2 separate regions of the Homo sapiens genome follow, and region 1 is linked to region 2. Evidence: promoter capture Hi-C in 16 types of primary human blood cells and fetal thymus (Javierre and others, 2016). All regions are on one chromosome and are shown on one strand. Each heading gives the region's core, a stretch centred on a gene start or on the middle of the fragment in contact. The rest is flanking DNA. Distances are from core to core; before and after follow the strand shown.

What was found. Contacts are between HindIII fragments. The CHiCAGO score rates a contact against its expected background, and 5 or more counts as called.
Region 1: a fragment that was not itself captured here is called in contact with the fragment with the promoter of BTN2A2 in region 2 in 1 of 17 cell types (neutrophils); the score reaches 5.1 in neutrophils.

Annotation. Positions count from the first base shown.
Region 1 is chr6:27,882,163-27,885,017 of GRCh38, forward strand. No RefSeq gene overlaps it. Among named protein-coding and RNA genes, the nearest start is that of H3C12, 7.2 kb to the right of the region's middle. The HindIII fragment of the contact is 3,554 bases long and covers 1-2,855 here.
Region 2 is chr6:26,381,676-26,384,522 of GRCh38, forward strand. BTN2A2 (butyrophilin subfamily 2 member A2) reads left to right here and starts at 1,433. Exons shown (of 8, transcript NM_006995.5): 1 at 1,433-1,506; 2 at 2,117-2,240. The coding sequence starts at 2,147. RefSeq lists a silencer at 1,282-1,371. The HindIII fragment of the contact is 7,335 bases long and covers 1-2,847 here.

The DNA.
Region 1 (2,855 bases), core at 32-2,531, 1.5 Mb after region 2:
TACTCCCGACCTCAGGTGATCCACCTGCCTCAGCCTCCCAACGTGCGGGGATCTCAGGCGTGAGCCACCGAGACCGCCCTCCGCCCTCTTGCCTGACGTTTACTATGCCATATGTTCCATATTCTTTGAGTGCTTATGGCTTTGGTTTTTTGGAGACGGAGTCTCGCTCTGTTACGCAGGCTAGAGTGCAGTGGCGCGATGTCTGCTCACTGCAACCTCCGCCTCCCAGGTTCAAGCAATTCTGCCTCAGCCTCCCGAGTAGCTGGGACTACAGTCGCAGGCCGCCACACTCTGCTAATTTTTTGTATTTTTAGTAGAGACGGGGTTTCACCGTTTTGCCCAGGCTGGTCTCGAACTCCTGAGCTCAGTCAACCCACCCAAAGTGCTAGAATTACAGGCGCGAGCCACCGCGTCTGGCCGAGTGCTTATGGTTTTAAAACTGACTTGCAAAACTCTTTATCAGGAAACCTCTTAGTTTCTCCTGAAAGTCTTTCAACCTATCATTGAAAGGGTCAGAATTTAGTTGTAAAGAATTTATTTGGCTGGGCGTGGTGGCTCACACCTGTAATCCCATCACATTGGAAGGCAAAGGCGGGAATGTCAGAGGCGTGTGAACCAGAACAACACCATCTTAAATAGGAGCTGGTAAAATAAGGCTGAAACCTCCTGGGCTGCATTCCTAGACGGTTAAAGCATTTTAAGTCACAGCATGAGATAGGAAGTCAGCACAAAATACAGGCCATAAAGACCTTGCTAATAAAGCAGATTGCAGTAAAGGAGCCAGCCAAAACCAAAATGGTGATGAGAGTGACCTCTGGTCGTCCTCACTGCTGCACTCCCACTAGGGTCATGACAATTTACAAATGCCATGGTAACGTCAGAAAGTTACCCTATATGGTCTAAAGAGGGGAGGCATGAATAATCCACCTCTTGTTTAGCATATCATCAAGAAATAACCATAAAAATGGGCAAGCAGCAGCCCTCAGGGCTGCTCTATGGAGTAGCCATTCTTTTATTCCTTTACTTTCTTAATAAACTTGCTTTCACTTTGCACTGTGGACTTGTCCTGAATTTTTTCTTGCAAGAGATCCAAGAACCCTCTCTTGGGGTCTGTATTGGGAAGCCTTTCTTTAACAGGAGGATCGCTTGAGCCCAGGAGTTCAGACCAGCCTACCAGCCTGGGCAACATAGCAAGACCCCTGTCTCTATTAAGAAGAATTTTTTTTTTAAGTTTATTCAAAGGAAAGCTGGAAATAGCCATTTGGAAAACAGACTCCAGGATCAATGGAATCAATCAGAGCTCCAAAGATAAAACTAAAGATCTTGCTTATATAGATAGAAAACAAAGACATTTAATAGAATTTTAAGTTTCTGTACAAAGGTGGCTTACGAGGTACAATTTGATTAGTTACAGCTTGTTTTTATTTTCTTTCACATTTAAAAGAGTATATTTAAAATTCCATCTTATACAATATGATAGTGACGAAGTCTTTGTGTAAGAGAGAAAACAGGGAAGTTCATCTATAATAAGAATCAATAGTGAAGAGATAAGGGGTCTTCCCTGGTGTCCTGTAGTCATTTACAACGTTTTACCACAAAAGGCAGATTTATAAGAGAAAAGCCTTACAAATGTGTTAACATGCACATGGGAAACAACTACAGAGTATTTACCCACTTCCCAACAGTGTACAAAGGTTTACAAACATTCTTCTTGTTTTTTTTTTTTTAGATGGAGTCTCGCTTTGTTGCCCAGGCTGGAGTGCAGTGGCGCGATCTTGGCTCACTGCAAGCTCCACCTCCCAGGTTCACGCCATTCTCCTGCCTCAGCCTCCGGAATAGCTGGGACTACAGGCACCCGCCACCACGCCCAGCTAATTTTTTGTAATTTTTAGTAGAGACAGGGTTTCACCGTGTTAACCAGGATGGTCTCGATCTCCTGACCTCGTGATCCACCCGCCTCGGTCTCCCAAAGTGCTGGGATTACAGGCGTGAGCCACCGCACCCAGCCTACAAACATTCTTTTTTTTTTTTTTTTTTTTTTTTTTTGAGACACAGTCTCGCTCTGTCACCCAGGCTGGAGTGCAGTGGCGCGATCTCGGCTCACTGCAAACTCCACCTCCCGGGTTGACGCCATTCTCCTGCCTCAGCCTCCCGAGTAGCTGGGACTATAGGCGCCTGCCACCACGCCAGGCTAATTTTTTGTATTTTTAGTAGAGACGAGGTTTCACCGTATTAGCCAGGATGGTCTCGATCTCCTGACCTCGTGATCCACCCGCCTCGGCCTCCCAAAGTGCTGGGATTACAGGCGTGAGCCACCGCGCCCAGCCACAAACATTCTTAAGCTAGAAAAAGGTTACAGAAAGAATGAGGGCTTGGGTCATAGCTAAACAAGTTACCGGCGGGTTGTGAGAAGAGGGATTCTGTTGAGGAGCAATAAATGATTACTAGGTAGAATGAGTGGACTGGGGAAAAGAGATTAACTTGTAAATAGTTCTCTTTGGAATTTGAATGCTCCTGGGAGACAACATTATCTTGTGAAAGGGTCTGTTCAGGTATGGTTACTTTTTTTTTTTTTTTTTTTTTTGAGTCGGAGTTTCACTCTTGTCACCCAGGCTGGAGTGCAATGGCGCAATCTCGGCTCACCACAACCTCTGCCTCCCGGGTTCAAGCGATTTTCCTTCCTCAGCCTCATGAGTAGCTGAGATTACAGGCATGCGCCACCACGCCCAGCTAATTTTTTGTATTTTTAGTAGGGACGGGGTTTCTCCATGTTGGTCAGGCTTGTCTTGAACTCCCGACCTCAGGTGATCCGCCCACCTCGGCCTCCCAAAGTGCTGGGATTACAGGCGTAAGCC
Region 2 (2,847 bases), core at 183-2,682:
ATTATTTATTTATTTATTTTGAGGCAGGGTCTCACTTTGTCACCCAGGCTGGAGTGCAGTGGCATGATCTCAGCTCACCCTAACCTCCACCTCCCAGGTTCAAGCCATTCTCCTGCCTCAGCCTCCTGAGTAGCTGGGATTACAGGCATGTGCCACCACACCCAGCTAATTTTTTTTTTTTTTTTTTTTTTGGTAGAGACGGGGTTTCATCATGTTGGCCATGCTGGTCTTGAACTCCTGACTTCAAGTGATCTGCCTGCCTCCTCCTCCCAAAGTGTTGGGATTACAGGTGTGAGCCACTGCACCAGTTCCAGACTAAGTATTTAGACATTTGAGGGGATTATTGACAACTGGGCCTTGGGAAGATTATTCTGGAAGATATCTATACAATGACAAGATTGGATTCTGTGGGGGAGGGATTATGTTCATGGGGAGGAGGTTATGTGTGCTGGTGTGTGTGTGTGGTCCTTGGACTTAACCCCACCACCTACTGGCAGAAGGTCAAGGTCAACTGAAAGTCTTTGCTCACTTCCATCTTCTGCCTCCACCAGAATACCACCTCCCCGTGGGAAAGGGTTTTTAATCCTCACTCAGTATTCTCAGCACGTCTTATCCAATAGCTTTGGAGTGAACAACAAGACCTTCATAACAGCCACTGCAACTGCTGTCACCTTTCCTTTGCTACCCCTCCCACTCCAGCCATGCCTGCTTCCCCCAAGGCCTCCCGCGCACCAGGCCCAACCTTCAAAGCCAGCAACATGAACAAGAGTCCTCTGGCTTTGGAAAGACGGCGGCTTATGTTTTCCTCCTCATGTTTCCTCCCCAGCAAAATCACTCTACATAGAGAGCCCTCTCCTCGTCTACACCAGCAAAGCCACTGACACCTTGGGGATCTCAAGGCTTTGTAAAAGAACGGAAGGAAAGAAAGAAAGAGAGAGAGAGAGAAGGAAAGAAAGAAAGAAAGAAAGAAAGAAAGAAAGAAAGAAAGAAAGAAAGAAAGAAAGAAAGAAAGAGAAAGAAAGAAAGGAAGGAGAAGAGAAGGAAGAGAAAGAGAGAAAGGAAGAGAGAGGAAGGAAGGAAGGAAGAAAAAAGAAAGAAAGCGAGAAAGAAAGAAAGAATAAAGTGAGAGAGAGACATATGAAAGAAAGAAAGAAAGAAAAAGAGAATGAGAAAGGAAAGAAGGAAGCAAGGAAGGAAGGAAGAAAGGAAGGAAGAAAGGAAAATAAAGGAAAAAAGTCTTGCTTCCAAAGACAGAAAAAGGAAATAGAAATACCTAATAATCCCAAAAGGTTATTTGCTGCTTGAGATTTTTGGGGGGTTTTTGTGTGTGTATTCTACCTAGTAACAGCTGAGAAATAAGGCTCGAGACACCATTGGTTGGTTCAGCCTCACTCGGCCAATCCTGGGCTCTAAACTGCTCAGTGGAAATCTTGGGACTTTTTGGACACCCAGAGAACAGGTCCCAGATACCGAGTCCGCAACTCCAAACATCGCGATTAATAGGAGGTGAACACAGCTTTTCTCTTCTCTTTGGGATGCTTTGTTGTCTGGTGGTGACTGTGCCCATGGGTGAGTTGTATCGGAAAATCGTCATGTGAGGATCAGAGGGGAAAAGAAAACAGAGGTTAGTTCTAGAAGGTAGGAAAGGGAGAGGAGGCGCTACAGCTCCGGGGTGGGGGCGGTAGCTGGGGGCGGTAGGTGCGGGGAGCGGGATCTGCTCTGGAGAGGAGAGGGGGACCTGGGAGACAGGAAGCCTACTGGTGGGGAGGCGCAGCCTCGCCTGGCTTTACCTCGAGTGTCCCGACCTGGGTCTCGGGGAGGGGGAAGTGGAGGGACGAGGGTGTGAAAGAATCCAGGGACAACTGAAGAAACCGGACTGTGGCCCGAGAAGTGGGAAGAGGAAGGAGGAAAACGGCCCCCTTGATCTCTGCATTGATGGCTTACTTATGGAATGTTTACGGAATCCCTCTTTCGGAGATACCTGAGCCTTGAGATGCAAGCGACTCCCAGAAGTTGGGGCACCGATGAGACCTACTTGAGTGACAGGAGAGGTTGGGCCCGACCAGCACTGAGGTGCCAAGACTCCTAGGCTGATTCTCCTCCTCTGTAACCCTAGGCCTCTGGTCTCTGCCTGCCCTGGGTGCTCATGGAACCAGCTGCTGCTCTGCACTTCTCCCTGCCAGCCTCCCTCCTCCTCCTCCTGCTCCTCCTCCTTCTCAGCCTGTGTGCACTGGTCTCAGGTAGGGATGTGTGTCACTTGCTGCTGTCACCTCTCAGAAAGGAACATCAACCCTGTAGTCTGCAAAGGGAAAGAAGGAAGAACTGTGGGGTTGTTGACTTATCCTTTCATTCTGAACATGTTCACTGAATTTATACCAGCACTGTCCAAAAGAAACACAGTGAAGCACAAAGGTCAAGTGCATATACAAGTGCAAATCTTCAAAAAGATTTTTTTAACTTTTTATTTATTTGTTTATTTATTTAAGAGAGAGTATATTGCTCTGTTGCCAGGCCGGAATGAAGCAGATGGAGAATGAGATCATAACTCACTGTAACCTGAAACTCCTGGGCTCAAGGGATCCTCCCATCTCAGCCTCCCAAGTAGCTGAGAGTACAAGCAAGGGCCACCACACTCGACTAAGTTTTATTTTTTGTAGAGACAGGGTCTCACTATTTTGCCCAGGCTGGTCTCAAACTCCTAGCTGTTAAGGATCCTCCCACTTTGGCCTCCCAAATATCTGCAATTACAGGCGCAAGACCCTGTGCCTATTCTACTTTTTATTTTAAAAGGTAAAAACATACTTGAAATAAATTTTAATAATGTATTTTGTTTCATATAAATAATCA